Regions from separate parts of the Homo sapiens genome. Here region 2 is linked to region 1. Evidence: promoter capture Hi-C in 16 types of primary human blood cells and fetal thymus (Javierre and others, 2016). All regions are on one chromosome and are shown on one strand. Each heading gives the region's core, a stretch centred on a gene start or on the middle of the fragment in contact. The rest is flanking DNA. Distances are from core to core; before and after follow the strand shown. Region 1 holds the start of C2orf74-AS1 (C2orf74 antisense RNA 1). Region 2 holds the start of B3GNT2 (UDP-GlcNAc:betaGal beta-1,3-N-acetylglucosaminyltransferase 2).

Region 1 (3,950 bases), core at 618-3,117:
GACTGAGTGCGCACACGCTGTCTGCTCAGCCAGGATCGAGGCACCATTGGAGAACTGAACCCACAGACCCCAAAAGTGGACACACCCAAAATGCCCGGCAACTGATAAATGGAGAAACAGAATGCAGTATATGCACCCGTGGAATATTCATCAGCTATAAAAAAGAATAAAGTGCTGCTACCTGACACAACACAGATGACCGTTGAACACATTATGAAGTAAAAGAAGGCAGACACCAAAAAACACATCCTACATGATTCATCTATGTGAAATGTTCAGAGGCCAATCCAGAGAAAACGGGTGAGCAGACACCAGGGACTGGGGAAGAGGAGGGCAACAAGAGTGACTGCTCATGGGTCCAGGGTTTTGTTTTGGGGTGGTGAAATGTTCCTAAATTGATTGTAGTGATGGCTGCACAACTCTGTGACTATACCGAAAACCAATAAATTATACACACTAAATGAGTGAATTATGTCTCAAAAAAGCCGTTTTTAAAAGAAATCCCTACCCTACTGAATGACAGAAAGAGGGAGCAGGACAGTAAGCAAAATAGTTTTGTAAAGCAAGTTTCAGTGCCTTGGGGAAAAATAAAGTAGGGAAGAAAGATGGCACAAGGCAGGAGTCTCCAAGGATGCACAGAGATGGCTTTACTCAGGACAAAGACCTGAAGGAGGCAGGCAGCTACCTGGGGGAAGAGTGCTCCAGGCAGCAATGCCGGGAGACTCCTGTTCACAAGGGCCTGGTAGAAGAGGGCCCAGCTGACAGCAATGAGCTCTAAGCAGCTGCGAGTGCTGCGAGAAGGGAAATCCCCATCCTTCTTGGCCCATGGAACTCAAGTGTGGCCAGAGTGTCAGGATCTACCAACGCTGATTCAGGAGCCAGTCAGTGTGCCAGGCCCATAGCAGGGGCTGTAAAAACATTCGCTGAATGATGAACGCACTTTGTCCCCAGCCCCACTAGTACCCTGAGGCCCCTGTTACCTTTCCAGCCCAGTTTGATGTTCCACTCATAGAAGAAAATCAGCTTTCCTTTGCGGCTGCTGCACGAAGCCTCCCCTTCCACCTGCTTCAACTCGTTGATCTCGCCGCGGCCAGCGTCATTCTCCACAACGATGCCCACCAGGAGCTCCTGGAACTTCCCTTTGGACAAGCTGGTGGCATCCCGCTCTGTCCTGCCAGGGACCAGAAAGTCGTGAATGGAAGCCCCAGCTGGGATCCACCTGCCTGGGTGCCAGGGTCACGTCCAAGCCCAGCCCAGATCGGCCCAAGTCCTCTCAAGCAGCCTCGAAACCTGCCAACCTCCAATGTGCTCCTCAAACCTGCTTTCTATCAAATTCTTTTCATCCTGCTCAGTTCTTTAAGATATTATTGTCCACTATGCAAGTAGTATTCTGTCTTAAAAACACTGGCTTATTTAAGGGAGGAGGATCTAGCTAGCTCGCCCACTGGAAATAGGCAAAGCCTAGGCCACAGGGAAAGTAGCAGTAGTGAACTAATCAGAATCATGACAATACCAGCTATCAAGTGTCTTCGCATATACATCGTCTAATGTAATCTTCCCAGGCAATATTCTCACTTTAGGGGACAGAAACGAGCTGAGAGAAATGACATGTCCATCGGGCCAAGGCTAGGACACTAGAAAGTCAGATCTAGCTCACGCCTGTAATCCCAGCACTTTAGTAGGCCCAGGCGGGCGGATCACGAGATCTGGAGTTCGAGAGCAGCCTGACCAACATGGTGAAACCCTGTCTCTACTAAAAATACAAACATCAGACGGACGTAGTGGCACGCATCTGTAGTCCCAGCTACTCATGAGGCTGAAGCAGGAGACTCGCTTGAACTCTGGAAGCTGAGGTTGCAGCGAGCCAAGATTGCCCATGCCCTCAGAGCTCCTCCGGACCAGCCAAGTCATGCTCCTCTGGGGACCGGCCTCAGCATCCCCTCGACGGCCTGGAGGGACCACAGCCCCGGCCAGAGGCGCAGGGCAGAGGACATCCCTTCCGGAGGTTCTGCGGCGGAGGGCTGCCGACCTCTCCCCACGCGCCAGGTGAGGCGCGTAAAGGAAGGGGAGCTTGTCTCACTCACAGAGGGCCCGGCTCGCGGGAGGCGCCTGCGGGGTGGGCGCGAACTGAGATCCAAATTTCTGCCCTTTCCACTACGTTCCATACCCCCGCCCCTAACACAGTCTCTCAATCCAGCTCCCTTCTAACTCCCCGAAACATCCAGAGGGGTGGGCGGGAGGAGAAGGGAAGGCCCTCAGGCCACAGACGGTGGGAGTGGAAAGGTCTGTCGGAAGTCACTCTTGGGGCCCAACCCAACTTTCAAAAAGAGGCAGCTGCAACCCTCCTAGCCGGTCTCCGTACTCAAGGACTCTCCCGAGCCGAGAGGCGAAGGCCGAGCCCTGCGTCCAGCAGCTGAGGGGGGGCGGCCCCCTGACCCCCTGGCCCCGCGGCCCCGCACAGACCCCAGGGCAGCCCCGGCTCCCGCGGCCCGGCCCTCCCCAGATCCCGGAAGGAGGCCGCCGCCAGCCGCGCCAGCGCCAGTTGTTCACGTTGGTCCCGTCCTCCCGCTCCTCCACGATCCAGTGGGGGTTCCCCTGGCCCCACTTGGCCATGGCGGCGTGGACTGGGCGGAAAACAAGGAAAGGCCGCGGCGCCTAAGGCTCCGAAGCCAGCGTTTCCGGCCGCCGAGCCCCGGGGCGGCGCGTTCGCAGCTCCCAGAAACTGCCAGAAGGCCCCGCCCCCGGCCCCGCCCCGCCCTGCCGCGGCGCGCCCGGGAGCCCCAGCCGGGATCTGGGAGGCGGGTCGCGCGGGGACGCGGGGACGCGGGGACGCGCGGGCGGGGAGGGGCTGGGGCCGCCGGGGTTCCGCTGCGCGTCTCCTAACGCTAGGGCGGGACGGGGCTGTCTGGGCCGCCTGCGAAGGGCGGAGGGCGCTGCAAGTCCCGCGGTGCTGGCGGGCTCGTGATTCCCGGCGCCGGGAAGCAGGGCGCTGAGTAGCGGGTGCCTGAGAGTCCAACCGGCAGTGTAGACGCGACACCGCCGTCAGGTGGCCTCGGCAGGCTCCCTATAGCTCTCGAGGACACGACCTCGAACGCCCAGGTCGCTGTAAGACCGGCCTTTGGGGCCACAGCGCGCACACGTCACACCGTTTGCGGATTTCGCCTAAGAGCGAGTCCGCGCCCAGTTGCCGCGCTGCGGTTTTTTCCGCGACGCAGTCTCTCGCCCTCCCCCCTTCCCGGCACCTTTCCAACTAGTCCCATGTTACTGCGGGAGTATTTCCATTTTATTCACGTAATAATCCTTTAGAGAGAACGAAAGAATGTGATTGCAAACGCATGTTACTGCAAACTGATGCACTTTATCATGGAGTATTAATGATTCCTTTCACGAATTTTCGGCTTCTAGCTAAAACTTTGCACGAACTATTTGGACAATGTTACTGGGGTGTTCTCTGCTAACTACATGGGTAGTTAGCACAGAAATGGGTAGAACAGTGAAAAGGTGGAAGCATCTGACTGTTCTCTTCCCCTGTGCCGACCTGTCCTTTGCCTGCGGTCATCCACGAAATACACTCACGAGTGGAGACATTTTCTCCATTTGCCTACCGGAGCTACCACCTTCCAACATTATCTTCCAGAAAGCTACAACAGTCATGTAAACACACTGCTTAAAGGCGTTTTGACCTCAAAACAAAAAGACGTTTTGATTTCACCTTTCACACTTCACTAAAGCAGCTATAACAGAGTCACATGAAGGAGCAGCGTGGTGGGGTTGCCTGATCTTAAGAAGCCTCATTTCCGCTGCTAAGGAGCTTGCACTTGGCCATACAGGCAATGGGCAACCACTGAGGCAACCTAAATGGAGAAATGACACGATCAGATGTGTTCTAGAACAATCAGTCTTGGCCGGGCGCGGTGGCTCACGCCTGTAATCCCAACACTTTGGGAGGC
Region 2 (3,950 bases), core at 479-2,978, 1.0 Mb before region 1:
CTGCCCTGCCGGTCCTCCCTCCGGGTCAGCTGTCAGATCCGCATGGGTGCGACTATAAGCCGGCACCGGAGCCCCGGGACTGGCTCGGCCAGGGTCCCCGCCTTTTCACTCCCAGTCCCGGCCCTGTCGGCCACCTCGTTTACCACCTCCAGAGGCACAAATAATTATACCGGAAGAATTTGTTTTAACAAGTAGAATTCTATATTCACCAACTGGCTTCGCTATCGGATATTACGGTAGGGTTCCAACAAGAGAAGGGCAAAAGAATATAGTTTAATTGTTCTAAACAATCTTTCTGAGAAGTTGGGGTGGCTGAGGCGGCCACGGGGATACAGCTCAGGCACCTGTGAGCTAAGCCCACTCTACAAACTAACCACCCCTACGTTTTGGGCAGAAGAGCGCCGCCTCGCCAACCCAGGTTATAAATGTACATATTTTTAAAGATGAGCTTTGACGCTGTGACACTTGTGGGGAGTCTCCCGACGGCTCCTCTACTTGATGGGGGTACAGGGAGTTCTGCGGCTCCCCAGCCCCGAGTTTCAAATACCGTGGCCTGGAAATTAACCGGGTGACTCGGTTTATTGCCTCCAGAAGGGTCCGCCTGCCGTGCTGGAGTAGCCGCCAGTCCCGCGCCCGCAGCCCCGGCAGGGCCCCCCACGCCCACCTTCCCACGAGGGGTGTCTCGTAGAGTCCGGCTTCAGGCGCTCCCTGGCCTGGCAGCACCCACCCCACCCCGCCCCACCCCACCCCCACGACTCGGGCTAGCAGCCTGGTTAATCATTCAACGCAAACAGTGTGGAATATTTTTTTTAAAAGGTCAAAGCGAAAGGTTTTCCCTAAGTTTGGCAGAAACCAGTTTTGGGGGAGCCGGAGACAGAAGTGGCAGAGGTTGGGGGTGGGGGGTGGGGAGCGGCTGCCGGCGGCTCTTTGGCTCACAAAACACCTGATCTCCCCATGCGGCACGGGAGGCCGGCGCAGTGCGAGGGTGGGGTGCGGGGGTGCGAGCGAGGAATCACGCGCGCCCCCCTCCCCGAAATGCCCGCGCGCCCCGGATGAGGAGGCCCGGCCCCAGATGCCCCTTGCCAAAGCCCGCATCGCCCCGGCGCCGGATCCCCCGGAAGTTGGGGTGCAGCGAGGAGGGGGAAGGTCCCCGGGCTCCAGGGCGAGGTGGGCACGGAATGGGTTGGGAGGTTCCAAAGCCCCGCAGCGGGCGGTGTCCCTCTCCTCTCCCTCTGGGCTGAGGTTGGGTGGCTGGGACGGCGGGAAGGTAAGGGAGGCTTAAATGCGGCAGGAGCCACCTAGGGACGGCTTCCTCCACCGGGGCGCGGGTACGAAGCCGGAACCGGCGAGGAACCGGGCGGGGGTAGCAGGGTGTCCGGAAGGTGGGGCCGGGAAGCAGGGAGGCGGAAGGGGACTGGTAGAGGGGCCTGGCGGTGAGAGGGCAGCGGGGAGGGAGCCGGCGGGGGTGCTCGGCGCCCGGGCCCTACCTTGTCCGGGAGCAGCTCCAGCTCGGCGGGGCGGGGGCAAGGGCGGGAGATCGCGGCCACATCCACGTCCCGGCCGCTCCGCGCGGCTCAGCCCGGCGACCGCCGCAGCTCACGCTCCATGCGCGGCGCCCCGGACGGGCGGCCCGGCGGTGTCGGCGGCAGGGACTGCTCCGGCTTGGCTCTGCTAGCCTCCGGCACTTGTTGCCGCTGCTGCCGCTGCCGCTGCGCCTCACTCCAGGCTCCGGTTCCAGGCGCAGCAGCCGCCGCGGGCGCCCGGCCCCGCCCCTCCCCTGCCCGCCCGCCAATGGGGCCCGGCCCCGCCCCTCACGTCACCGCCCGACGGCCCCGCCCCGCGCCCCAAGTTTTGGGAGGGTTCCGCTCTCCCCACCCGGTACCAGGACCCACCCGGGCCCGCGCTCCCTGCGGCTTCCAGGGACCCTCCAGCCCCCACGCACCCTCCTGCAAAGCCGAGGGTTAAGCTGGGGAAAGGGGGCCTCTAGGAAGGCGACCCCCCTGGAAATGCCTGGCAGCTCCAAAAACACTAATGAAACTCAGCTCCAGCCTCCGCCCCTCCAGTTGTGGGTGGCCCCTCTTGCGGTTCGTCTGAGGCTAGGGGACTAGGCGCATCGCCTAGCGAGACTCCAGTGGCCTTTTCTGTCCAGTTTGTAACCGGAACTAGACCGACCCCGGCCGCCCCCTCCAGTGCTGGGGCGGGTGAGGAATGGCCCCGCCGGGGAGGCGGGGGAGGGAGGCCTGGGCCACCCTGGGGTCTGACCTTTGCTCCACCTCTTAGGTGCTCACGACCCAGAGTGGTGCCCTGCTTGGTACTGCCACTGGATCCTCTGGCTTATGAAGCCGTCCAGGACAGGAAGGGTGGGGGGTGGTCCTTAGTTCTCTTCGTGGGGTCATGCAGAGTGGTTTCCTCGAGGTCCCACGCCCGTCTCAGGAAGCCAGAAACGCAAGATGCCGGGCGCTCGGCCCGAACCCGTGCCGCGGCCCAAGGGGCAAGGCGGATACCGAGGCAAGGCCTAAAGGGCCGGACTCTGACCGCACCCTCCGGACACTGCAGGGCTCCGCCGGCCAGAGGCGGCCTTGGCGCCAACCACACCTAGCAGCGGGGTCCCCGGGCCCACCGATGCGCCCTCCTAGCCCCGCGCTCCTTCGAGGGGTTCCAAGGTGACTCAGAGACGCAGCTGACACAATTCTGAGGCCCCCAGGTAAGCCTGGCGATACCGGATGGAGAAGTTACCTGGTCTTGAAAGGCCCAGTCCAGCCAGCGAGACCCGCGTGCGCTCCGCGGGGAGGCAAGCCTAACCAGGGGCTCACCTGGAAGCGTCCCCGCCCCCTGGTCCTTATCTCTGAATCGAAACCGAACCTGGACCCATCTAGATAATTGGACTGAGCAATTAAGGACGCTTCGCTCCTAACTGTTAGCATTTTTTCCTAAGGCTCTCGGAGGCGGAATCAGCTGGAAAGGAACATTGCTAAGTAGGAATTTCAGGCACCTGTGAACTGAGCCCACTCAATAATCGGCCCTTTCCCTTAACCAAACTCAGCAAAGGAAGAAAGACCAAGTTGCTGCGGATGCACAGAGCCACGTGGGTGCGGGTCCTCTAGAAACAGGAATTCAGAGTCAGTAGATATGGAAATGTTATGGTTTGCAGTCTTCGGACCATGCTGCTTTCATGCTGTTCACATGATTCTCCTCGGACTGCGAGGTAAAGTCCAAGAAACAAGTCGAATGTTTGTATTTTCATAGAAAAAACATCTGTAAGGGTGCACACCGACTGTTAACCACGGTTACGCGGGGAGGGGAAACAAGGGAGTTACATTTTTTTACTCCCTTGACTTTGGATTTTGTATTTTTCCAGTTGTATTTACTTTCATAATTTAGAAAGCTAATAAAACATGTTTAAAGAAACAGAAGCTAGAAATTCTCTAAGAACTCTAGGAAGTAGAGGCCGGGCGCGGTGGCTCACGCCTGTAATCCCAGCACTTTGGGAGGCCGAGGCGGGTGGATCACAAGGTCAGGAGTTCGAGACCTGTCTGGCCAACATGGTGAAACCCTGTTTCTACTAAAAATACAAAAATTAATGGTGACATGTACCTGTAATCCCAGCCACTTGGGAGGCTGAGGCAGGACAATCGCCGAACTCAGGGAGGCGGAGGTTGCAGTAAGCCGAAATCGTGCCACTGTACTCCAGCCTGGGTGACAGAGTGAGACTCTGTCTCAAAAAAAAAAAAAGAACTCTAGGGAGTATAAATTAATAAATGAAGTCTATGTCTTCATTCTGTATCAAAATAATATTGAGTCCATGTTCCTGGGTTTAAATAAAGATATCTCTAGGCTGCTGTCTGATATTTAAATGCAGTGTTGAGACAAAGCGGACATCTAAGGAAGATTTTCTGTGCCATCAGATTGGTATATTGTTTCCATGCATATGTGTCTTCCCTTTAAATGCA

What was found. The method cuts DNA at HindIII sites, captures the fragments that hold promoters and counts their contacts. A CHiCAGO score of 5 or more calls a contact.
Region 2: a contact is called between the fragment with the promoter of B3GNT2 here and the fragment with the promoter of C2orf74-AS1 in region 1, in 1 of 17 cell types (neutrophils). The highest score is 6.0, in neutrophils.

The regions. Positions count from the first base shown.
Region 1 is chr2:61,176,202-61,180,151 of GRCh38, reverse strand. It overlaps C2orf74-AS1 (C2orf74 antisense RNA 1), which reads left to right and starts at 1,867. Exons shown (of 2, transcript NR_183879.1): 1 at 1,867-2,046. It also overlaps the pseudogene AHSA2P. RefSeq lists a silencer at 2,412-2,961. The HindIII fragment of the contact is 7,287 bases long and covers 1-3,950 here.
Region 2 is chr2:62,193,893-62,197,842 of GRCh38, reverse strand. It overlaps B3GNT2 (UDP-GlcNAc:betaGal beta-1,3-N-acetylglucosaminyltransferase 2), which reads right to left and starts at 1,728. Exons shown (of 2, transcript NM_006577.6): 1 at 1,488-1,728. LOC124906013 (a long non-coding RNA gene) reads left to right here and starts at 1,830. Exons shown (of 2, transcript XR_007086336.1): 1 at 1,830-2,704; 2 at 2,936-3,854. RefSeq lists enhancers at 333-442, 1,423-2,029, 2,636-3,243 and silencers at 853-1,202, 1,383-1,822, 2,113-2,342. The HindIII fragment of the contact is 10,818 bases long and covers 1-3,950 here.